Linked DNA regions of Homo sapiens: all the other regions are linked to region 4. The links are contacts of gene promoters, found by promoter capture Hi-C in blood cells and fetal thymus (Javierre and others, 2016). All regions are on one chromosome and are shown on one strand. Each heading gives the region's core, a stretch centred on a gene start or on the middle of the fragment in contact. The rest is flanking DNA. Distances are from core to core; before and after follow the strand shown. Region 1 overlaps PHTF2 (putative homeodomain transcription factor 2). Region 2 overlaps CCDC146 (coiled-coil domain containing 146). Region 3 overlaps PHTF2 (putative homeodomain transcription factor 2). Region 4 holds the start of PTPN12 (protein tyrosine phosphatase non-receptor type 12). Region 5 overlaps MAGI2 (membrane associated guanylate kinase, WW and PDZ domain containing 2). Region 6 overlaps PHTF2 (putative homeodomain transcription factor 2). Region 7 overlaps CCDC146 (coiled-coil domain containing 146).

The links. Contacts are between HindIII fragments. The CHiCAGO score rates a contact against its expected background, and 5 or more counts as called.
Region 1: a contact is called between a fragment that was not itself captured here and the fragment with the promoter of PTPN12 in region 4, in 1 of 17 cell types (total B cells). The highest score is 7.1, in total B cells.
Region 2: a contact is called between a fragment that was not itself captured here and the fragment with the promoter of PTPN12 in region 4, in 13 of 17 cell types (monocytes, neutrophils, M0 macrophages and 10 more). The highest score is 15.5, in monocytes.
Region 3: a fragment that was not itself captured here is called in contact with the fragment with the promoter of PTPN12 in region 4 in 2 of 17 cell types (total B cells and naive B cells); the score reaches 8.6 in total B cells.
Region 5: a fragment that was not itself captured here is called in contact with the fragment with the promoter of PTPN12 in region 4 in 1 of 17 cell types (naive B cells); the score reaches 5.6 in naive B cells.
Region 6: a contact is called between a fragment that was not itself captured here and the fragment with the promoter of PTPN12 in region 4, in 1 of 17 cell types (total CD4 T cells). The highest score is 5.5, in total CD4 T cells.
Region 7: a fragment that was not itself captured here is called in contact with the fragment with the promoter of PTPN12 in region 4 in 3 of 17 cell types (neutrophils, monocytes and M0 macrophages); the score reaches 9.5 in neutrophils.

What each region holds. Positions count from the first base shown.
Region 1 is chr7:77,839,145-77,842,330 of GRCh38, reverse strand. It overlaps PHTF2 (putative homeodomain transcription factor 2), which reads right to left. Exons shown (of 19, transcript NM_001395272.1): 2 at 2,031-2,110. The coding sequence starts at 2,075. Among named protein-coding and RNA genes, the nearest start is that of PHTF2, 42 kb to the right of the region's middle. The HindIII fragment of the contact is 239 bases long and covers 1,286-1,524 here.
Region 2 is chr7:77,190,706-77,194,085 of GRCh38, reverse strand. All of the region lies in intron 2 of CCDC146 (coiled-coil domain containing 146), which reads right to left. FGL2 (fibrinogen like 2) reads left to right here. Exons shown (of 2, transcript NM_006682.3): 2 at 1-717. Among named protein-coding and RNA genes, the nearest start is that of FGL2, 7.4 kb to the left of the region's middle. The HindIII fragment of the contact is 3,370 bases long and covers 1-3,369 here.
Region 3 is chr7:77,935,868-77,939,129 of GRCh38, reverse strand. PHTF2 (putative homeodomain transcription factor 2) reads right to left here. Exons shown (of 19, transcript NM_001395272.1): 12 at 1,292-1,420. Among named protein-coding and RNA genes, the nearest start is that of DDX3ILA1, 53 kb to the left of the region's middle. The HindIII fragment of the contact is 3,332 bases long and covers 1-3,262 here.
Region 4 is chr7:77,535,267-77,538,760 of GRCh38, reverse strand. It overlaps PTPN12 (protein tyrosine phosphatase non-receptor type 12), which reads right to left and starts at 1,466. Exons shown (of 18, transcript NM_002835.4): 1 at 1,116-1,466. The coding sequence starts at 1,214. LOC124901681 (a long non-coding RNA gene) reads left to right here and starts at 1,812. Exons shown (of 3, transcript XR_007060395.1): 1 at 1,812-2,390; 2 at 2,480-3,494. RefSeq lists silencers at 927-976, 1,117-1,326, 1,577-1,876 and enhancers at 1,947-2,166, 2,337-2,386. The HindIII fragment of the contact is 6,799 bases long and covers 1-3,494 here.
Region 5 is chr7:78,025,091-78,028,174 of GRCh38, reverse strand. All of the region lies in intron 21 of MAGI2 (membrane associated guanylate kinase, WW and PDZ domain containing 2), which reads left to right. Among named protein-coding and RNA genes, the nearest start is that of DDX3ILA1, 36 kb to the right of the region's middle. The HindIII fragment of the contact is 2,914 bases long and covers 1-2,751 here.
Region 6 is chr7:77,857,900-77,861,427 of GRCh38, reverse strand. The region is part of intron 2 of PHTF2 (putative homeodomain transcription factor 2); the gene reads right to left. Among named protein-coding and RNA genes, the nearest start is that of PHTF2, 61 kb to the right of the region's middle. The HindIII fragment of the contact is 5,217 bases long and covers 1-3,528 here.
Region 7 is chr7:77,212,423-77,215,973 of GRCh38, reverse strand. All of the region lies in intron 2 of CCDC146 (coiled-coil domain containing 146), which reads right to left. Among named protein-coding and RNA genes, the nearest start is that of FGL2, 14 kb to the right of the region's middle. The HindIII fragment of the contact is 2,757 bases long and covers 923-3,551 here.

The DNA.
Region 1 (3,186 bases), core at 156-2,655, 300 kb before region 4:
TTGGGAGGCTGAGGTGAGAGGTTCACTTGAACCCAGGAGGTCAAGGCTGCGGTGAGCCGTGATTGTGCCACAGCACTCCAGACTGTGTTAACAGAGTGAGACCCTGTCTCAAAAATAAATAAATATATATATAATAGAATATGTGATTACATTTGCTAGTATATTTTATGACATTTCCTATAGTTGCTCTGGAGAATATTTTGGTTGCATGTATCCAAAGCTGTCAGGTAAATGACCCTTGGATAAGAGGGTCATTTCAATTACAGGGCTAACTTCAGTTACAGGGCTAACTGAATCTGAGTATAATATTTCAAACCCTCTGATCCCAAGAAAGGTCAATCAAGTATGTTCTATAAATGATCTTCAGTAAAGTCTAAAGTGTTTAATGTAAAAAGCCAAACAGAGAAAATGTTTATTACTCCCGTAGATAGAAATTAGGAAAGAGAAAAACTTTCAAAGATATAGACAGGAAAATTTTTAAAGTTTGTTTTGTTTTGTTTTCCTTAACTTACAATTTTCTTTAGCTCTTTAGCTAAGCAGACTGATTTTTAACTTGATTGGAAGTTTAAAAGTTTAAAAGGAGGCACTAACAAACACAAAAGACAATTAATAGTATATCAATATCAATACTTCCAATAAAGTACCTCATATGAAAAATATAATTGTATACCTATGGCATGTTCTACCCAGAAAACAAATAACACATCTAAAAACAGACCATAATCCCATGCCATCTACTAAGGGAGGTTTAGGTAGGAGGACCACATGAGCCCAAGAGGTTAAGGTTGCAGTGAGCCATGAGTGTGCAACTGCACTCAAGCCTGGGCAACAGAGTGAGATCCTGTCTCAAAAAATATTTTTAAAAAGGCCATATTCTTAGTTTGTCTAACTTTTAAAGTGTTTTAATTATCACTTATTTTCAATTGAACAAAACTTAAAAATCATCTGTTTGGCTGGGCGCGGTGGCTCAAGCCTGTAATCCTAGCACTTTGGGAGGCTGAGGCGGGCGGATCACCTGAGGTTAGGAGTTCAAGATCAGCCTGACCAACACGGCGAAACCCTGTCTCTACTAAATATACAAAAATTAGCCAGGCATGGTAGCATATGCCTGTAATCCCAGCTACTTGGGAGGCTGAGACAAGAGAATCGCTTGAACCCAGGAGGCAGAGGTTGCAGTGAGCCGAGATCGCGCCACTACACTCCAGTCTGGGTGACAGAGAGAGAGATTCCATCTCAAAAAAAAAAAAAAAAAAAAGTCTGTTTTTTCTCCTATATAAGAAAAGCTTTAAATGTATCATTATATTTTGTTAATAGAGACCTGAAGAATAAGGTATAAAAATGTTTTAAAATGTGAACACAAATATAATCCACTATGTACACAAAAGATCTAAGGTATTACACAAAACAACATAAATTTTAAAGAATATAAACAACACTCATTAGGAGCAAACAGTTTATTGTATTGTCAAAAAATGCCTATATTCTTTTGGACTTTATAAAGAAAAACATTACATTGGTAAAGCTTATTCTGAAATATATAAGATGATACAGCTATTTAAAGTAGGTACGACAATCCTAAAACATCAAAATAAACACTTTAATATTTCAGTTTGTAAAATAGAGTTCCCAAAACTTTATTTTACTGAAACATTCAGCTATTGAATTGTAACTTACAAGAAACAAATTAAAAACTATTGATATAAGTTATGTAACAGCTCTGCTAATCTTTCTTTTAAAAAATTAAACTAAGGAAAGTGTTAATGTTTTTATAAAATGCTAATTTTATCCACTCCTGGAGATTTGCTTTCTATTATAATTAATCTAGCTACTTTGCTATTGTAGAGTAAAAAGTAGAGAAAAAATATGTTTAAGCATCATCTTTCCAATTTATTTAGAAGTAAAATAAGTACAAGAAAAATAAAAATAATCTTCCTTTCCCACTCAAAATCCTAACATCTATAGCATGAAATAAACATGTATTTTTGAAATTCAAACATTTAGAAAGCTAAAAGTTTTGACTATCAACTTACCTTCTTTTGATACCAGACTATAGCATCTGTGACTTTGGACGCCATTTATTCCACTGAAATCACACATTGGTCATTTTAGGCTGTGCAAGAGAGAAAAACATACAAATGACTTTATTTCCCACCTTCCAAAAGGAGACTGAACAGCATGCAGACATAGCACTCTGGTTACTTGCAGAGCAAGGGGTGTATGACGAGACTTATATTACACTCTTCCTCATTACTATTTTAGCAACAGGTTCTCTTAAGTAAACAAAAATCAGTTGCCACAATAATAGAAAGTTCTATTTGCATGAATAAATAACACTTGTTTTCTTACAAAATAGATTGAATTTTTTTTAATCTTTTAAAGAAATTTCAGAATTTCCTAGGTTATACCAGAAATTGTTCATCTAAAAATCCACATACAAGAAACCAATTCATTCAATCAGTAATGTAGTTTGTTTCTAAAAACCAGTGTCAGTTACCATTGCTAAAGGATGGCTTAACAGAGATGACAGAATTTATAATGATATTTAATTTTCCCTGACACTCAGTAAACACAAAACTGAATTAAAATAACCCAAGAGCCAAAAAGTATTTATGTTAAATACTAAGCCAATATTAGAGTTAATACACAGGAATAATTAACACTAAAGACTTCCCAGATATCACAGTTTGCTAACTGTCATTTAAGTAGTTATGACAATTAATCCTCAAAGATCAAAAAAACTCTTTAATATTTCAGTTTATAAAATACAGTCCCTAAAAGTTTATTTTATTGAAAAAAATTAAGCTACTGAATTGTAACTTACAAGAAACAGATTAAAACTGCTGATATGTTCTATAACTCTGCAAATCTCTTTTAAAAATAATCAAACTAAGACAAATACCAAAAACCATTTCATAAGCATCTTTTCTGTGTTTGTCTAAAACAGGATAGGTACTAAACTTAATGATTCCTTAACCCTAGAGGTTATTTGAGACTGATTCCCATCAACTCCAGAATACTATTTTAGTCACAAGATGACACTGGCATAGAGGTTACCTCTGGTCTAGTGTTAAGGATGAGCCTAAAACAGGTTCAAAAGCAGTTATTGGCTGCAGAACTCATTACAAACCAAAATCATCCAAGGACACACAGGATGATCTCAGGGAAATCCTGGGGGTAAAGCACCCT
Region 2 (3,380 bases), core at 435-2,934, 340 kb after region 4:
GTTCTATCCACATTATTTCAAGGGATCACTTTATTTTTCATTATACTTTCACAGCACTTTTCTAGTAAATTCTGTAACACAGAAATTCCATTTTGGAATCATTTCATGTTACCAATAATTCTAGACTTTTATAACATTTAACATGTTGATGGAAATAGATTACATCTGCTAGAACCTTTTGCCTTAACTATTCACCAATATATGCTAATATTCATAAATATGGATTGACTGTTTACAAACATTAGAATCTTGTCTTGGTTCCATTTTGATGGCTAATATTTGTTATCTTAATTAAGACTATTTCTGAGGTCATGATTACTTGAAAATATTGACTAAAACTGGGTCCTTAGAAATTCCAGGTGGAGCTGATTTACCTATGACTGAGGGGAAAAAAAAATCAAATTTTACTGATAATAGTAATGCTCCAAATGAATTAATGACACATCTGTTCAATAAATAAAGAGCTTAAATATACAAAACATAAGAAATCTGGGCAACAAAACTTGTGGTCTTTACTTTTGAATAGCTACCCAAGAAAAGGTTTTAAAGGTAAAAGTTATGAGTAATGTCATCACAATAAGCTCTTGTTTAAAATTCTTTTCTTTTATGTATAATTAGGTTTATGTTTCATGTCTTTTTAAAACCTTATAAAAGATTTAATTATCACATCTATTCTTCAATGTGGAAATATTAAATATTGTTGGTTGTAAAATAATATTTATGTACTTACTTGTGTCTGAAAAGTTGTAAAATGCTTACCTCAGCTATACAATATCTGTGACTCTGAAGACTTTAATGAGTACTATTTCATTAACAAGAAGTCAGAGGCAAATAGAGGAACACCATTATCTTACTTCCCTCTAGAATACTGTTGAAACATTTGAAATACAAAAGTTTCAGTTTCATTTTGTGGCATTCAACTTCCTCTCCTCTTTTTCCGTTATTAGTGTTGCTGCTCTGGTTAGCCCTCTTCATCTCCTTAGGACAACACAAACGCATCTGAATAGTCTGTACCTCTGGTTTCAGTCTATTCCAGTCCAACTTTCATCCCTACCAGGGGGATTGTTCAAAAGTACAATTCTGATCATGTTATTGTCCTGCTTAAAAAACTTTCAACAACGCCTTCTTTTCTTTTTTTTTATTATTTTATTTTATTTTTTTTAGAGACGGAGTCTCACTCTGTCGCCCAGGCTGGAGTGCAATGGCGAGATCTCGGCTCACTGCAACCTCTGCCTCCTGGGTTCACGCCATTCTCCTCTCTCAGCCTCCTGAGTAGCTGGGACTACAGACGCCTGCCACCTCGCCCAGCTAATTTTTGTATTTTTAGTAGAGACGGGGTTTCACCATGTTAGCCAGGATGGTCTCGATCTCCTGACCTCGTGATCCACCCGCCTAGGCCTCGCAAAGTGCTGGGATTACAGGCATTAGCCACCGTGCCCGGCCAACAATGCCTTATTTTCTACAAGATAAAATCTGGCAAATAAGTCCCTTCATGAAATGATTTTTACCACTACTTATACTTCTGCCATACTAAACGCCTTGTTGTACACAAACAAACTACGCTTTCTAATGTTTTCATTGCCTTTAGTATACTGTTTCCTTGGTCTAGATAGAATGCCATCCTCTTTCCTCACTGGGTTTTGTCTTATCACCCATGATTAACAGCAGGAACTCAGGAGCTGGCCTTCCTGGTTTGAATTTCAGCTCCACTATTTGCAAGCTGTATGATCCTGGGCAAGTCACTTAATGTTCTTTGGTTCCTTCAATTATAAAATAGGAATAGTAATAGAATCTGCCTGATAGAGTTATTGAGAGGATTAAATCACATATATAAAGCACCTAGAACATATATATTTAAAAATCATCATTCCCAGCTGGGTGTTGGTGGCACATGCCTGTAATCCCAGCACTTTGGGAGGCCGAGGTGGGCGGATCACGTGAGACCAGCCTGGCCAACATGGTGAAACCCCATCTCTACTAAAAATACAAAAATTAGCCAGGTGTGGTGGCTCACACCTGTAGTCCCAGCTACTCAGGAAGCTGAGGCAGGAGAATTGCTTGAACCTGGCAGACAGAGGTTGCAGTGAGCAGAGATGGCGCCACTGCACTCCAGCCTGGGTGACAGAGAAAAAAAATCATCATCATCCTAAGTAGTTATTATTATTTTTTATTTTTTGAGATGGAGTCTTGCTCTGTCGCCCAGGCTGGAGTGCAGTAGCACCATCTCGGCTCACTGCACGCTCCGCCTCCTGGGTTCACACCATTCTCCTGCCTCAGCCTCCCAAGTAGCTAGGACTACAGGTGCCCGCCACCACACCCAGCTAATTTGTTTTGTATTTTTAGTAGAGACTGGGTTTCACCGTGTTAGCCAGGATGGTCTCGATCTCCTGACCTCGTGATCCGCCCACCTTGGCCTCCCAAAGTGCTGGGATTACAGGCGTGAGCCACTGCGCCAGGCCCTAAATAGTTATCTCTTATAGGCAGAGTTCTCTGATGACAGTAGGTGGGGTCCTGGCACCTCTCCTAGATCTTATGCCATCCTACATATTCCTTATTATATATTATTCAATATTGTCTAAGTTCTATCCTGAAATCAATCTGTGTGAATAGGAGTAAAGGAAATTTGAGACATGAGTATTGTTATTCAAAGTGATTAATAATATGTTGCCACAGAGAAAGAGTTGTACTCTAAAGAGGCCACAGTTATGATTGGGAAAGTAGTGGGTAGGGTCAAATCTGCGGATATGAGAGACTGTGAACATAGGTGAGAAGCAATTACAGCCAGGGAGAATATGGCAAGACAGGATCAAATACAGTAAGTCCTCACTTAACGCTGTTGATAGGTTCTCAGAAACAGCGACGTTAAAACAACATACCATGTAACAAAACCAATTTTACCATAAGCTAATTGACATAAACAAGAATGAAGTTCCTATGGCATACAATATGCTGTTTTTGCTTAAAGTTGCTGTTTCCAAGAACCTATCCATGATGTTAAGTGAGGACTTACTGTATACTATAGGACTGGGAATGTAACAGTGGCAAACTTTTAGAAGGGGTCCTAGGAACATGCCTGTGGGGACATGTCACACAGAGGCATATTGCTGTACCTGCCCAATAGTGATTGTTCCACCCTACTGAATTCCTGAAGAAAAAAGCAGGAATAATTTTGAAATTAATTTTAATATAAAATCCATGAATCCTTTAATTTTTTAAAAAGTTACAGATTAAAATAAAGACTCCTTCACAAATCACCTTCAATTTCAATCCTGTCCCTCTCCCCAGAGGTAACAAGCCGAGGTGGCCAATTCCCAACTTTAATTTCATTCTGTGCATTGCCAGATCACAATGTCTACTAAGTCATAAGCTTGCCAGGTCTC
Region 3 (3,262 bases), core at 391-2,890, 400 kb before region 4:
AAAGAGATCTTAACTATCATGTAGCCAACTTTTTATAATATATATTAGATAAATGAGACCATTGTAAGTTAAGTGATCTGCCAATTCACAGGTAATTAAGTTACAGAGCACAAACTAGATCCAAGATTCCAGAGACTTCCCCGTCAACTGCTTTTAATTGCTCACACTGAGATATGTTATAGGGAGTATTATCAATTTCTAGACCCAGTTATTATAATTCCTGTCTTACACAAAGTGTGGAGAAGAGTTCAAGCACAATAATGCACCAAAGAAATTTAGAAATTGCAAGTTAAAAACAAGTCCAGAGAAATCAACACATTTTATTTTATTTTATTTTTATTTATTTATTTTTTGAGACGGAGTCTCGCTCTGTCGCCCAGGCTGGAGTGCAGTGGCGTGATCTTGGCTCACTGCAAGCTCCGCCTCCCAGGTTAATGCCATTCTCCTGCCTCAGCCTCCCGAGTAGCTGGGACTACAGGCGCCCGCCACCACGCCCGGCTAATTTTTTGTATTTTTAGTAGAGACAGGGTTTCACCACGCCTGGCTAATTTTTTTGTATTTTTAGTAGAGACGGGGTTTCACCATGTTAGCCAGGATGGTCTCGATCTCCTGACCTTGTGATCCGCCCGCCTCAGCCTCCCAAAGTGCTGGGATTACAGGCGTGAGCCACCGCGCCCGGCCAATCAACACATTTTAAAAATCAGTAATTATCTGAAAAAAGAAATAATAGAAAATAAAATTTTAATCCACAGTATTTCAATTAGACTTCTTTGAACTACTCAAGACTTTTACCACTATCTGCATTACTTCTATATATTTAAGTAGGTAAGCAAGTATGAATGCAAATTTACTAGTTTGATTTTTTCATGTCTTAAGTCCTATTAAACAAATGAACCAGTAAGAATGATACAGAAAAATAAGTCTTTTTAATTATTTTTTTATTTTTAAAGTTCTTGTAACAACAATCTCTAGTCCAAAGAAAAGTCTTTATTAACACCTGTATATATCTAACAAGCTCCTGAATTTCAAAAGAAAGAAAAAGATAAAAGAGAAAAATTATAGACCGTATCATCTATTCTTGGTCAGATAAGTGAAAACACTAGAAGATGAGAGTGGTTTGGTGACAAATCACTGTTTAAATTACAGACAGAAACAAATACACACATGTAACTTTTTTTTCAGGGTGAAGAAATGAGGTCAGAAGGTTACTAATATAATATTCCAGTAATTATCTTATATATAATTACTAAGTCTTACCCTTGAACTACAAGAATAAAATTTAAAAACTCACTCTGTTCATTATCATTCCACTGATTTCAAGTACAGACATGTCTGCTTTCTTACAATCATTACCTTCCCATACTATAGCACTTATTTTTTCTAATCCTGGGTGGGAACTATGGAGCCAGGGCAAATGACTCTATAAAAAAAAAAAAAATTAGTAAATATATAGATCACATTTAATAAATAAAATGTGTGTATATAAAGTTGTATATATATCTCTATATACACACACAATTTTAATGACACTAAAAATAAAAATTGGTGAATATATTTATCATGTTTTATAAATGGAATATATAGATCTGTGCACAGCTAATATATTTATACACACAACTCTAAGACACTAAAATTCTATCTTAAAATTAGTTAGCATATACACTGAACAGATATCATAAGAAGTTACATGGTTATGAAACTGTACAAGTTGAGAACTTTCTGTAACAAGTATTAGTCAACCTATGTTCAAAAATATACTAAAACATGTCAGCAAAAGTACTTAGTTGTCAGTCTACACAGCTGCAATATACTAATGCTAAAAGACAAATGGATATCAACTTGTTCATAGTAATCATTGTCCAACTTATGATCATTAAAAAAGAATATGACAGCTGAGATTTGAATCTCTTTGAAAGACCATATAGTGCTAGTCTTATCCCAAAAAAGACTCTTCCTTACATATTTAACGTTTAATATCTGATTTAGTTACTTTTCTGATATTTTAATCCAGCATTTCTCCAAAGGACCCATTTAACTTTTTTTTTTTTTCCAGATAAAGCAAATATTACAAAACTGAAGCACTCAGCCTCCTGAGTAGCTCGGACTACAGGCACCTGCCACCATGCCTGGCTAATTTTTTTATTTTTAGTAGAGACGGGGTTTCACCATGTTGGCCAGGCTGGTCTCTAACTCCTGACCTCAGGTGATCCACCGGCCTCTACCTCCCAAAGTGCTGGGATTACAGGTGTGAACCACTGCGCCCAGCCCCAAAACAGAACAGTTGAGTTAATGATGGCAACAAAATTAATGAAACACTAAACCTTTATATAATCAGACTTCAAGAGGAGAAGTAACACTAAAAGATTAAACCCAGATAGAGATCAGTTTGCTTGTTTATATTGCAGTATTTCTAGTGTATTTTTAAGGACTCATATACTTCCCACATTTTGTTTTTTGAGACGGAGTCTTGCTCTGTTACTCAGGCTGGAGTGCAATGGTGCGATCTCAGCTCACTGCAACCTCCGCCTCCCAGGTTCAAGTGATTCTCCTGCCTCAGCCTCCCAAGTAGCTGGGACTATAGGCGCCCACCACCACGCCCAGCTAATCTTTAAATTTTTGTAGAGACGGGGTTTCACCATGTTGACCAGGTTGGTCTCGAACTCCTGAACTTGTGATCTGCCCACCTAAGCCTCCCAAAGTGCTGGGATTACAGGCGTGAGCCACGGTGTCTGGCCACTTCCCACATTTTCTAAAAACAATAGTTTTGGCATTCGTAGCAACCTCAAATTTTATAAAATATTTCATTAAATATAACTTCTAACAATGAACAGAAGAATCTACTCTAGGTACATTTATTCTTTAGAGGACAAAAATGTGATTAAAATATGGTAAAAAAAATGTTTCTTGTAAACTTTTAACACTTTCCTCTAGGGGGAGTAAAGTTGCATTGATTAATTTCAACTAAAGTTGAATAATAATAATTCAATAATGTAAAAAAAAAGAGGTGGGAAATTTTTATCTTTTCTAGAGATGAAGGATTTTAATATACTTTAACTTTCATGGTATACATTTCACTACTTGAGGTCCTGAAGAGTGCTAAGATACTAGTTATTAACTACCAACTTAATTTCTCAAATGTTATTTCCTCATTTATCTCCAAACAAAATATTCTGTTTTGGGAAAGAAATAATCTGTACCAAAATATGTATCAAACTTTCACTAGAAATTTTACAATTGTTAAGCGTAAGGAAACCAAAAAGCC
Region 4 (3,494 bases), core at 217-2,716:
AGGGAACATTGTCCAGCAGAAAAATAAAAAGGGCGGGGGTTGGGGGGGTGGGTAACGTAGGAAGTCGACTTCTGGTCTCACGCCTTCGGATCTGACCCCCTCACAGTGTGCTAAAGCAATAGTGTATCTAGAGCAATTTCATGAACAAGACTTTTAACCTTCACCTCCTCTCAAGACTGCCTGCACAAGCAGAGGGCGGAAAGTAGGGGGTGGCGGAGGCGGGGGGGCGCTGGGAAGGTTATCTCCCAGTTCAGGGCTTCGGCCCGTAGCGTCGCCTCCGCCCCACCAGGACTATTGTTCCCAAGTTCCCCACCCCCACCCCGGATAGGAAGTGATAGTCACATCCCCTCCGCCTTCGGCAATATCCCCTGGGGAGTCCGAAGTCGGCTGGCTTCCTTCAGGATAATTCCCCCACCCACACTTATCCCCTGAACCTATAGTCACACGGACCCCAAGACCACCTCAAACCTGGGCCTCAGGAGAGGAGAAGCGGGACGCGGGTAAATGGAAATTAGGTAAACCCATGAGATTCCTTATGGGCAATCCTTTCCCAAGCGTTGGAGATCATGACTGCGACCCCAGAAACGGCCTAAGTCCTACCCTGCCCGCTTTGAGACCAGCTAGAGCAAAGGGATCCCAGGAGTTAGTGCCAACCTCAATACCCCCGTTCCTCTGTCAGCCACGATCTGCACTCCTCCCGGTCACAGCCAGATACCTTGCCTCGACCCTCCTGGGAGGAGCGAACTGCGCGGGGAGGTGTGGAAACGCGAGCCCCCCCCCCCGGCCTGCACCTCACTTGCCTACGGCTCCCGGCCCGGTAAACAATAGGTGGTCGCGAGCCACGGTGCAGGCTGCGGGCTCGGCCGCGCGGCCGCTCCCTTCGCGTCCCGGGAACCCGCGCGGGGGTCGCGAACATGGGAGAAGAAAGGAGGCCACGGGGGGAGGCGCTCTCGCCTCCCGCTGGCCTCCGAGACCACCCGGCTCACCCGGCTGGTGCGCGCCCCCTCCGCCCCTCTCCTCACAGAGGTACACAAAGCACTGGCGGCCCGGCCGGGAGAGGCGGCGATGGGCTCCGGCGCCGGCAAGAAAACGCGACAGCGAGGGGAGAGACTCACCATGAAGTCCCGGGCGAAGTTGTCCTCCCCATTGTGGTCAGGACTCTTCATGGCCTGGACCCTCTGGATGAATTTCCTCAGGATCTCCACTTGCTCCATCCTCCCGCGTCCCCCCGGCTGCGGTCGCTGGCCCCCCCGCCGCCCGCCCGCCCGGCACAGAGCCCGCTCCGTCTTCCCCAGCTCGTTCCCCCAGCACGTCCCTCCCTCCCGACCCCGCCAAGCCCCGCGGCTCCCTCCTCCTCCCCACCGCCCTAGGCGGCGGCTGCGGCGGCACCGGCTGGGCTCCCGACACCACAACTTCCAGGAGCAGCCGCCGCTCTCCCACAGTACCAGGCGAGCCGCTGCGCTAGCGCCAACCCCAACCCCCAGCTTGCTCCATCCTCCTTCCCCGCCCTCCTCCTCCGTCGGAGACGCCGCCGCCGCCGCCGCCGCCGCCGCCGCCTCAGGAACACAGCTAGCTCTCCGCTCGCCCTGCCCCCCCTTCCCGGTTCCTCCTCCCCCCCACCCCCCGCCAGCAGCCGCAGCCGCAGCCGCAGCCGCCTCTCCCCACGGGCGCGTCCCCGCCGCCACCCAGATGCGCGGCCTCGCGCTGCGGCTCCGCCCCAAGCGCTGCGCCCGCAGATGCATCCCCGCCCGCCTCCCGGCCACGCCCCCAAGCCCGCCCCGCCGGCCCCAGCCCCGCTTGGAGTGGCTGGAAGGCACTTCAGCGGGCGGCCTGGAGACCTGACTCCATTTCCGGGGCGTGGCCCCGCCCGGGGTGCTCAGAGGTCGGAGTATCGCTGGGAGGAGAGTTGGTTCATTTGGAGGAGGGAATGCGACTCTGAGCGGGCCAAGCCCTAGTGGGTCAGAGTAGGATTCTGATGGAATTTGCGGTCTCACCGCCTACTAGGGAGGAAAAGCAGTTTTCAGGAGTCCCGCACCGCCGCCAGCCGTGGGCTGGGACTACAAGTCACGGTCTGTGGAGTCCAGGAGTGGGGGCGGGCGGGAGGCAGGCTGGGAGCTGTAGTAGTGTCACCGCCACGTTCGCAGCAGGTAGATGCTCATCTTGCTAACGGATTGGTGAGAGTGGACAGCAATTAGGCTTTGGCACCTTGGAGCGTGGCTCCAGCTAAGGGAAGCGAAACGCTTCCTGGGTGAGAGGACTTTTATTCTTTGCTCATCCTCTTAAACCTGGCGAGTGAGCGCCTGAGGTTCGGAGTGCCTTCTTCACAGACGACGCGAATGTGGGGTCTTCGTGTTTGCCGAACTGAAGGGAATTTGCCTTCCTGCCTTTAGGTTCGCAGCAGTTCATAACTGAATAAGAGACTTTCCTCCATAGAATGGACTTTATAAATCTATTAATTTTTTTTTTTTTTTTTTTTTAGAGCTAAGGTCTTGCTCTATCTCCCATGCCAAAGTGCAGTGCTATGATCACGGCTCGCTGCAGCCTTGAACTCCTGGGCTCAAGGCATCCTCCTGCCTCACTACGTCACCAAGCCCAGCTAATACATTTTAAAAATTTATTATTTATTTATTTATTTATTTTTGGTAGAGAAGGGGGTCTCACCAGGTTGCCCAGGCTGATCTCGAATTCCTGTGCACTAGGGATCCTCAGCTTCCGAAAGTGTTGGGATTTTAGGCGTGAGCCACCGCGCCTAGCCTATAAATCTTTATTCATCTTTGTAAACTTCTATCAGAGAATATATTCTGGTCTAACTCATCATTTTACAAATAAAGCGACTTCCTGACATCCCCCAGCGTATTCTTAGCAGAGCCGTAACTAGAAGTTATTTTACTTTCACAACAGTGGCCTCTCACAATGTGACAGAACTGAAGGATTTGATCCATGAACTGACTTTCGTCATTTATACCCACAAACCTTTTTTTACAGAGCAGATTGGTCAGCGAATTTGGTTATAATAGGAAATATCAGTGGTAGAATACTTTCTCAGATGAAAGTTAGGAGCACTATGGAATTTAGTGAAAAACTCATTGAAGAAAATAGGTGTAGGCCGGGCGCGGTGGCTCACGCCTGTAATCCCAGCACTTTGGGAGGCCGAGATGGGAGGATCACCTGAACCCGGGAGGCGGAGGTTGCAGTGAGCTGTGATCACACCATTGCACCCCAACCTGGGCGACGGGAGTGAGGCCCTGTCTCAAAAAAAAAAAAAAGAAAAGAAAATAGGTGTAACAGGATATAGTTTATTTACTTCTTCAAAAAAAGGAAAATATTTCTGTTAAAATAATCCAACTAATACATCCACTCCAGAAATATGCACTTCAGACCAGGTGCAGTGGCTCACACCTGTAATCCTAGCACTTCGGGAGGCCGAGTTGGGTGGATCACTTGAGGTCAGGAGTTCGAGACCAACCTGGCCGATATGGTGAAACCCTGTCTCT
Region 5 (3,084 bases), core at 45-2,544, 490 kb before region 4:
ATTTGTTCTGCAATTTTCAAGGTACTTTTGTTTATATTTTGTTACAAAAAGCAATCACCTTAGTGATGGCTGAACAGATGCAAATGAACCTTTATAGTTTGAACACAATTCTTAAAAGGTTTTTCTTTTGAATGCCAAATGACTTCACATTACTGTCCTTTGATCTACCTTAATCATTTTAGTATTTTCCCATAATATTCTAAATTAAAAGAAAATAGATTTCAATAAAACCACACCAGTATTGTCTAACCCCAGACAACTGTAGGTTGCAACAGGAAAGAGTTTTATAACAAATGGCACTAAATTCATGGATATTTTTACAGAATAATTCTAGTCATTTGAGCAGTAAAAGTATTTATGTCTCAAAGTGACTCAGTGTCTCCAGTATCTAATATATTTTCAATTCAATCCAGCTTCAAGGAATGTCACTGTGAAGATATTTTTTTAAGTAGATAGTACTATCCCTGCCCTTAAGAAATCCAATTTTATTGTTCTCTGATTGCAGGTCATATTTCTTTTTCTTTTTCTTTCTTTTTTTTTTTTTTTTGAGATGGAGTCTCACTCTGTCGCCCAGGCTGGAGTGCAGAGGCATGATCTCGGCTCACTGTAACTTCTGCCTCCCAGGTTCAAGCGATTCTCATGCCTCAGCATCCCGAGTAGCTGGGATTACAGGCATGTGCCACCACACCCGGCTAATTTTTGTATTTTTAGTAGAGACGGGGTTTTACCATGTTAGCCAGGCTGGTCTTGAACTCCTGACCTCAGGTGATCCACCCGCCTTGGCTTCCCAAAGTGCTGGGATTACAGGTGTGAGCCACCGCGCCTGGCCTGCAGGTCATATTTCTATCATTTTCACAGATCAATGCTCTAATCATAGCGACTGTGTCCAAGGTTCAAACACAAATGGCGTTTGAGAGTCTCCATTAGGAATAACGATGGACCTGCTTCTGACAATCACTTTAGATGGAAGTTTCTGTTATACTGCCCCAGAAGAAGACATGAGCCCTCATTTCTCAATCAGACTAGCAGACAGTAAAGACATTCAGCGTCAGTGTTTCAGCTGAGTTTGTAGAACATTACCCAATTCCGAAAGCCATTCAATGCCCCTTAGCTACCAGCTGTGTGGCCTTGAACAAGTTCCTTAACCTCTGTGTCTCTGTTTCCTCATCTGTAAAATGTGTCAGTTTACATGTATTAACATGAGTTAATACATTTCAGGGCCTTCAAAGAGTGCCTGGCATCTAGTAAGTACCTCAGTCAGTGTTAGCTATTGCCATTATGAGTAGTATCAATAGCAATAATGCTTCTATTATCTTCCTGACCACTCTAATCCAAGACGCAGTCGTTAGGCCCTGGGTTCATGCCCTGTAATGAGAGTAGGAAAGCAATGTAGGAACTCTTATTCATGGCTTTCGGAAACACCCAGCCTGAAGCTGGATGCCCTGAGGCCACTGGTGAGGTATGGGACAGCTGACAAAGTCTCTTTCCCCACCCCACCTCCGGCCCCACCCGAACCCCACCATTGCCCACAGTCTCTGGCTCCCTTCTAAGGGTTTTCTTGTTTATGTTTTGTTATAAAGAGCAATCACCTTTGTGATGGTGGAACAGATGCAAATGAACCATTATAATTTGGGCACAATCCTTAAAAGATTTTTCTTTCTCAACCTCTGTGTCTTCAGCACAGGATAAAATTAACTCTCCTTTGATGTGGGTTATGCTTTCCTCTTCTGCACAAATGTTTGCTGGAGTTAAGAGCCATATGGGAAAACCAAGAATACAGATACTTATTTACTGCAACAAGCAGTTTATTCCTATTGGGTCAGCTCTCTGGTTTTACCATCACTTTGGTTATATATCATAAACAAGCTGTTGAAACACAATTTCTGTAGATGAGATTTTTTATTTCTGGCATATGAAGTGAAGGAGCACATTTTATTTTTTAATATTGCTGGGCTCCTACAAGATAATTTGAGAAACCATACATCTTTTAACTAAAACATAATGGGGTGTGTGTGATCTGTGTGTATATATACTGATATGTACTTATGGATTAATCAATCTGTTTTCTAGGAAAGATCCAAACTGGCTAGAACTGACAATAGGAAGGGTAAGAAACTTGATCCTAACTTAGGAGAGGGGCTTGCTTCTCCCACAGTGGAATATAAGATATTTAGAGTCTATCTTACCTGTGGGTTCATTGGAACATTTTCTGGCATGTTGGTTAATGACTTCCCAGGGACAGAGCTCCTTTAAGTAAAGCTATTACTGCATCATTAGAGCTCATAACACGGGAAAGAACATCCATAAAAATTCAGAATTTGACTTTGCGCCCTGGGAATCTGAGCTTCTCTTCATCCCTGTCCATCCTAAGGGGCCTCCGATGAAAGCGGGAACTCTTCCCAGTGTATTTCTGTGGCTGGCTTCCTCCTTGTTCCCTCTCCCCAAACTTAGTCATTTCCCCTCCCGCTTCACATACACATTACCATTTCACCACCATCATCCCTCTCAAAACTGATCAAAGTTCCAAATACAAACCTGTTTTTGACAGATTATACTTCAAATGAAAATCCTTTGCCCTGAAGTGTTTCCTCAAGTCAGCATTTGGTTTCAAGTCTTCCATTTCTATTTGTGGAATATATGTATTCACTCATCAAATATTCATCAAGCACTTATTTTTGTGTCGAGGGCTATGCTAGTTATTAAATACACTGTGATAAACAAGGCCAATGTGGTCATTGCCCTTATGAAGCTTACAGCTAGCATTTGAGACTGATGTTTATCAAATAAGCAAGCAAAAGTATAATTACACATTATAATTACTACAACGAAATAAAATCGAGAAGCTGCTGAGGGGGTGTAGTATCTACTGTAGATTGGAGTTCTCTGGGATGATATTAAGAGTCCTGAAGGATGAAAAAGAACCCGCCATGTTCTTTTTAGATAGTTGTGGGGAAGCCTTCCTCCAGCAGAGAAGTCAGCAATGATGTCCCAGAATAGAAAGTGAGCTTGGAGCATTTGAAGAACTGAACGAAGACCAGTGTGGGTGGAGAATAGGCAATGAGGGGAAATGAAGCTGGGGAGGCT
Region 6 (3,528 bases), core at 176-2,675, 320 kb before region 4:
ATTTAAAAAAAAATACCCAGAAAATTCACCACGTAGGATAGTGCATTCCTCAAAATTACCATGTAGAATTAAGTGTAAGATATAACTGAAACTATATCTGCCTTTATAGCTATCTATTCTATCCACTTTTTAATGCATCATTTGTTTTGTTCCTTCCTAAAACACCCCTCTTTACCATGAAAACAAAGTACTTCAAAGGATCCCAGATAAAGAATGACACACCCTAAGGAAAAAATTGTGTTAGAAATTAAAGCAAACAATAAAAATAAATAAATAAAAATAAAAAAAGAAATTAAAGAATAAGGGAGAGAGCAATTAAATGTAAGTACATAATTTTCAAAAATACAAAGGAAAACTGACCACTTCTAATGGTGTTTTTCCATTTTAACTGATATAGAAATGTCCAATTTAAGAGAACAATTAAGGCCAGGTAAGGTGGCTCATGACTGTAATCCTAACAATTTGGGAGGCCGAGGTGGGAGGATAACGTGAGCCCAGGAGTTCGAGACCAGCCTGGGCAGCAGAGTGAGACCCCATCACTACAATACACAAAACAAAAAATTAACAGGGCATGATGGCACGTCCCTATATGGGAGGCTGGGGTGGGAGGATTGCTTGAGCCGAGGAGGTCAAGGCTGCAGTGAACCGTGATTGTGCCACTGCACTCCAGCCTGGGTAACAGAGTGAGAGCCTGCCTCAAAAAAAAAGAGCAATTAACAAAAACCTTTAATTTAACATTTGATTAATAACAACAGTCTATATTTAGCAAAAGTGAACAGAAGGGAGAGGAAGTGCTATAGCAGTATTTATTGAATACCTACTATACACCAAGCACTGTACTTGGTGTTTATATATGTTGTGTCATTTAATCATCACAGCAATTTTAAAAGGATTCTTATCTCAATATTACAGATAAAGAAACCAAGGCTTAGGAAAGTTAAGAAACTCACCCAAAGTTGCTAAATAAAAATAAAACCAGCTAACCTAGGACAGCCAAATATGTCCTCTAGTACATAATCACTTTAAATTGTTGTGTATAATTAGCCCCAAATACAAAATCCTGTAGCCTCAAAGACAGGAATGGCTTTTCGGTAGCCTGTAGCAGTTATAGAAAAAATAATATTCTCATACATTTGATTTCAATAAGAGTATAAATTTTTTAAACTGCACATGTCGACTCAACTGCTCCAATTTTATAACAAAAACAACAGATTAATATTTTATACACATCTAAATGTAAACTTTTATATTCAATGTTTTTTGGTCCCAATAGAGACAATCAGCATTTTAAGAGACAATCAATAATTTATCACAAAGTAGGTTTGACAATCCTCCAAGATTAGGACATTGAGAAATATACACTCTGGTTTAACTTACATGCAGTTTTTTAAAAGTGAAAGAATGTTATTATTATTTATAATAAGTAAGAAAGGAAACCTCATAACTGTTAGGTTAAACAACCCAAATATCTATTTAATAAGAACTGAAAGCAGAAAATTGTGCTTAATTTTGCATAAACGTATTCCTTAACACTTCATATAAGAGGAGCTAGGTACCAGGCATGGTGGCTCACACTTGTAATTCCAGCACTTTGGGAGGCCAAAGCAGGAGGATTGCTTCAGCCCAAGAGTTCAAGGCCAGCCTGAGCAACACAGTGAGACAGGGTCTCATTGTAAATTAAAATAAAAAAATTAGCCAGGTGTGTTAGTGCATGCCTATAGTCATAGCCTCAGCTACTCCAGAGGCTGAGGCGGGAAGATCGCTTAGGCCTGGGAGGTTGCGGCTGCAGTAAGCTGTGATTGTGCCACTGTACTCCAACACAGGTAACACAGAGAGACCCTGCTTCAAAAAAAAAAAAAAAAAGAAGAAAGAAAGAAAAGAAATTCTCACTTCCTGTTTTGCAAGGTATCTTTAAGGAATGAAAAATTTTTTTTAAAAAAAGAGGACCTAGGTGTTCGACAATCGTAACTTTTAAGAACATGAAGAAAATATTTGGGATCCTGACCTTCTCTTACTCAGTTCTTCACTGGTGGTCTACGATACAGCTACACAGATGGAAATAAAGCTACACATCTCCACACGAAATCCATTAAAACCAGTAAATATACTTCAGTTATCCTTCAGTAGTAGGTTGAATAGTGTCCCACAAATATTCACATGCACCGGAACCTCAGAATAGTTCCTTATTTGGAAATAAGGTCTTTGCAGATGTAATTAGTTAAGGATCTCAAGATAAGATCTTAACTTAGATGAGACTTAAATCCAATGACTACTGTCCTCATAAGAAAAGGAGAGAACACAGAAAGAGTGTGAAGAAGGCAATGTGAAGATTGAGGTGAAGATTGGAATGATGAATCTACAGGCCAGGGAACAACAAGGATTGTTCACTAGAAGTTAGGAGAAAGCAGAGAACAGTTTTTCCCTCACAGTCTCTCTCCAGAAGGAACCCATCCTTGCTGACACCTTGATTTTGGACTTCTGGACTCATGAATGGTGAAAAAAATAAACTTCTATTGTTTTAAGTCACCCAGTTTGTGGTCATTTGTTATGAAAGACATAGAAAACCAATATAACTTCTTATATCTTGTTATAACCACTGAGTTAATTTATTTCATTATCACAATAAATTAAACCATGAGACTATATACAGAAGCACTCTTGGGAAAAATGCTATTTAAATGTATGGTGGTACTCTAACATCATCATCATTCCTGTCATTGTTAAATCAACACATATGTATCTGTAATACTAACCCTATCTTTAAAAAAAAAAAAAAAAGTGTATACTTCTCCAAAGACAGAGACATCAGAGGTCACCTAAAAACAAACAAACAAACAAAAAAAACCTCTCAAATTAAACAAATGAGTTACATCAAAGTCTCTTCGGTCTGTTTCTCAAAGAAACTTTAGGACAGGAAGACCAGTGGCCTAAAAGTCAGCAGACCTTAGTTTTGGTTTTAATCACTAATTCATGATCAAGTTATTAACTTCTAAGGGTGTCCGATTTCTTGCCTATAAAGCAAAAAGTTTAACAGGAACTAGATAACCTCTAAAGTCAAACCCTCAACTATCACATAGTATAGTTTCTTTTTTCCTTGTAAACAAATAAAACTAAAACCCAAATTATTTAGGCTACAGATACCCAAACTGGAGACAGTGTGTAGGAGGAAAATTAAGAACTTCATAACCAAAATAGGGAAGAAAAATCCTAAGTGAAAAGGCAAATGTTACAGCAACTAAACTAACCTATCTATTTCTGCTAGGATAAGTCTTATTTTTGGCAAGTAAGTGACATTAAAGAGGAAGAGATGGAAAACATGATCAGTGACTGAAGCAAGCAAAATTGAGGTTTATAAGTGCTATTTAATCATGATTTTGCTGTATGCATGTTAGACAACAAACACCAACTAAATACCCACTTTTCTACCTTTGGATATTAGAAGTCTAGTATTTCAGATTTTTCATTTACAAGAAATTTTAAGCCTCATGAGAATTTTTTTAATCCATGAAATAAAGTACTCTGATAAGT
Region 7 (3,551 bases), core at 1,052-3,551, 320 kb after region 4:
TTAAATATACTTTAACAATGTAGTACTTTATTAAATTAAGAAGCAATTATTAGAATTTGAAAAAAATAAACCAATTGAATATAACTATGTATCAAAATATAATTTCATGGGAAGGAACCATTCCAATTTGAATAGGAATCCTAAGTAGATTTTGCCCTAAGGACAAAAAGACCTGCAACTATTTTTTTTATAATCACATTGTTGGTAGTAGTGTTATTCTGAAACAGTTATGTGTAAACTGTGGGATAAAGTCAATGAATAATTACATAATGTCATTGAAAATCAGGATTTTGATGTGGAGAAAAGAGACATCTATAAGACTGAAGAGGTTAAATAAATTCCCTGTGTAATTATTGACTTTGAATTGGCAATATTATGATGTATTTTATATATACATAATCTATCTTTCCTAGTTCTGTCCATTAAAAAGGCATAGAAACAAAGATTAACCTAGCAGCAATGAGTACCTCTTACTCCAAGATTCTAGTCTCTAAATACCATTTCCCACTTAAAGAAAAAGGGGAGGCTCCTTTGGAGAAATGACTGATTCCAAGTTTTGAGCATGGAAACAAATGAGCCTCCAATGCTTCTGTCATATCAGAAAAGCAAAAAATCTACCCAAGACTACTAGAATCATGTCAAAGGGATTTGGAGTCATGTCAAAAGGCTCCCACTACCCAAAAAATGGGCCAGGAGGACTGGCAATGAGCTAACAACTATAAAGGATGGGAATAACTATGTTTAAGTAAATGAGTTCACAGTAATACTTCAAAAAAAAAAAAACACCAAAAAAATAAAAACACCCCACAACACCTCTCACCTTTGAAGGATACTGGGGAATCAATTAATCATTTTGAAAACCTGAAAATCAAGTATTTATCATGCCTCTACAGCAGGGTAACCAAATAACTGAGTGGAAGCTTCTCTTTTTAGAAGGATTCTAATAAATAAGTGAAGAGAAAATAATAGTATTATAATATTGTCATTTAAAATTCCTAATGAATTAATAGACCCAGGCAAGTATTATTAATAGCAGGTAACATCACTAAAAGGGAGACAACCAATATCATGTGCCTCCTGATGAAAGTTCATGCAACCAAGAGGCATCCCATTTTGTGAATTCAAACTATACTACAAGGCTGTAGTAACCAAAATAGCACGGTACTGGTGCAAAAATAGACACACAGATCGATGGAACAGAACAGAGAACTCAGAAATAAAGCCATATACTACAACCAACTGATCTCCAACAAAGCTGACAAAAAGAAACAATTGGGAAAGGACGTCCTACTCAAAAAAATGGTACTGGAAAAAGTGGCTAGCTATATTCAGAAGAATGAAACGGTACCCCTGGCTCTCACCACATATAAAAATTAACTCAAGAGGGATTAAAGACTTGAATGTAAGACCTCAAACTATATAAATCCTAAAAGAAAACTTTTAAACATTAGACTAGAAAAAGAATTTATGACTAAGACCTCAAAAGCAAATGCAACAACAACAAAAATTGACAAATGAAATTTAATTAAAGAGATTCAGCACAGCAAAGAAACAATCAATGGAGCAAACAGACAATCTACAGAATGGGAGAAAATATTTGCTAACTATCAGGCTGACAAAGGACAAATATCCAGAATCTATAAGGAACTTAAATCAACAAGCAAAAAACAAATAACCTCATTAAAAGGTGGGCAAAGGACATGAACAGACACTTCCCAAAAGAAGACATATGAGTAAACAATCATATGAAAAAATGCTTGTCATCATCAGATAAATGCAAATGAAAACCACAATGGGATACCATCTCACACCAATCAGAATGGCTATTATTAAAAAGTCAAAATATAATATGTTGGCAAGGATGTGGAAAAAAAGGAATCCTTATACGCTGCTGGTTGGAATGTAAATTAGTTCAGCCCCTGTGGAAAACAGCATGGAAATTTTTCAAAGAACTAAAAATAGAACCACCATTTGACCCAGCACTCCCACTGCTGGGATTCTCAAAGGAAAAGAAATCATTCTATCAAAAAGACACCTGCACTCTTATATTTATTGCAGCACTATTCACCATAGCAGTCATGGAATCAACCTAAGTGTCCATCCATTAGGATTAGATAAAGAAAATGTGATACATATACACCATGGAATACTATGCAGTCATAAAAAAGAATGAAATCATGTCCTTTGCAGCAACATGAATACAGCTGGAGGCCATTATCCTAGGTGAATGAATGCAGAAACAAAATCAAAGTATTCATTTTCTAACTTATAAGTGGGAGCTAAACAATAGGTACACATGGACATAAAGATGGAAACAATAGACACTGGGGACTTCAGAATGGGAGGGAGGGCAGTGAGGGTTTAAAAACTGCCTACTGGGTACTATATTCACTATTTATGTGATGGGTTCAAGAGAAAGCCAAACCCAACATTATGCAGTATACCTGTGTAGCAAACCTGTACATATAACCTCTGAATTTAAAATAATAATTAAAAAGAAATGATAAATGTTTGAAATGACAGCTATGCTAATTAACCCGATCTGATTACTATACATTATAAGTATCAAAACATCACTATGGGTAGAGCAAGGTGGCTCATGTCTGTAATCCCAGTATTTTGGGAGGCTGAGGTGGGAGAATTGATTGAAATCAGGAATTTAAGACCAGCCTGGGAAATGTGGTGAGACCTTGATTCTACTAAAAGTTAAAAAAAAATTAGTCAAGCATAGTGGTGCACACCTGTGGACTCAGCTACTCGGGAGGCTGAGGTGGGAGGATGCTTGAGCCCAGGAAGTCAAGGCTGCAGTGAGCTGTAATTGCGCCACTGCACTCCAGCCTGGGTGACCAAGTGAGATCTTGCCTCAAACCACCACCACCACCACACAAAAAGCCATCACTATGTAAACCATAAATATGTACATGTGACAATAAAAAATTTAATAAAAACTTGAACAACAACAAAAAACAAAGTTGATGGCACCACCTAGAAAGTAGCCTTGGCAAAAAAAAAAAAAAAAAAAATTAATGTGACCTGGATAAAACATTTATGCACTAAGGCTCTATGATTATAATGGAAATACAGGCTTACTATTAAGCAAAATCCAGATTATGGAAAAATTTATGGGACAAATGGCCCAGCTTCTTAAAAAAAATTTTCTATTACATTACCACATTACCTTACCTCTTGCCATGTAGGCTAGAATCTGCTAATGACACTTACAGGCTTAGCCAATAACCATGAATAATTTACTCTTTTCTTTTTTGTTTATTTATTTATTATTTGTTTATTTATTTGAGACATATCACTGTGAATGGGATTTTTTTCTTCAATTTTTTTTTTTTTTTTTTTTTGAGACGGAGTCTTGCTCTGTCACCCAGGCTGGAGTGCAGTGGCGTGATCTCGGCTCACTGCATGCTCCGCCTCCTGGGTTCATGCCATTCTCTTGCCTCAGCCTCTGAAGTAGCTGGGACTACAGGTGCACGCCACCACACTCGGCTGTTTTTTTGTATTTTTAGTAGAGACAGGGTTTCACCATGTTAGCCGGGATG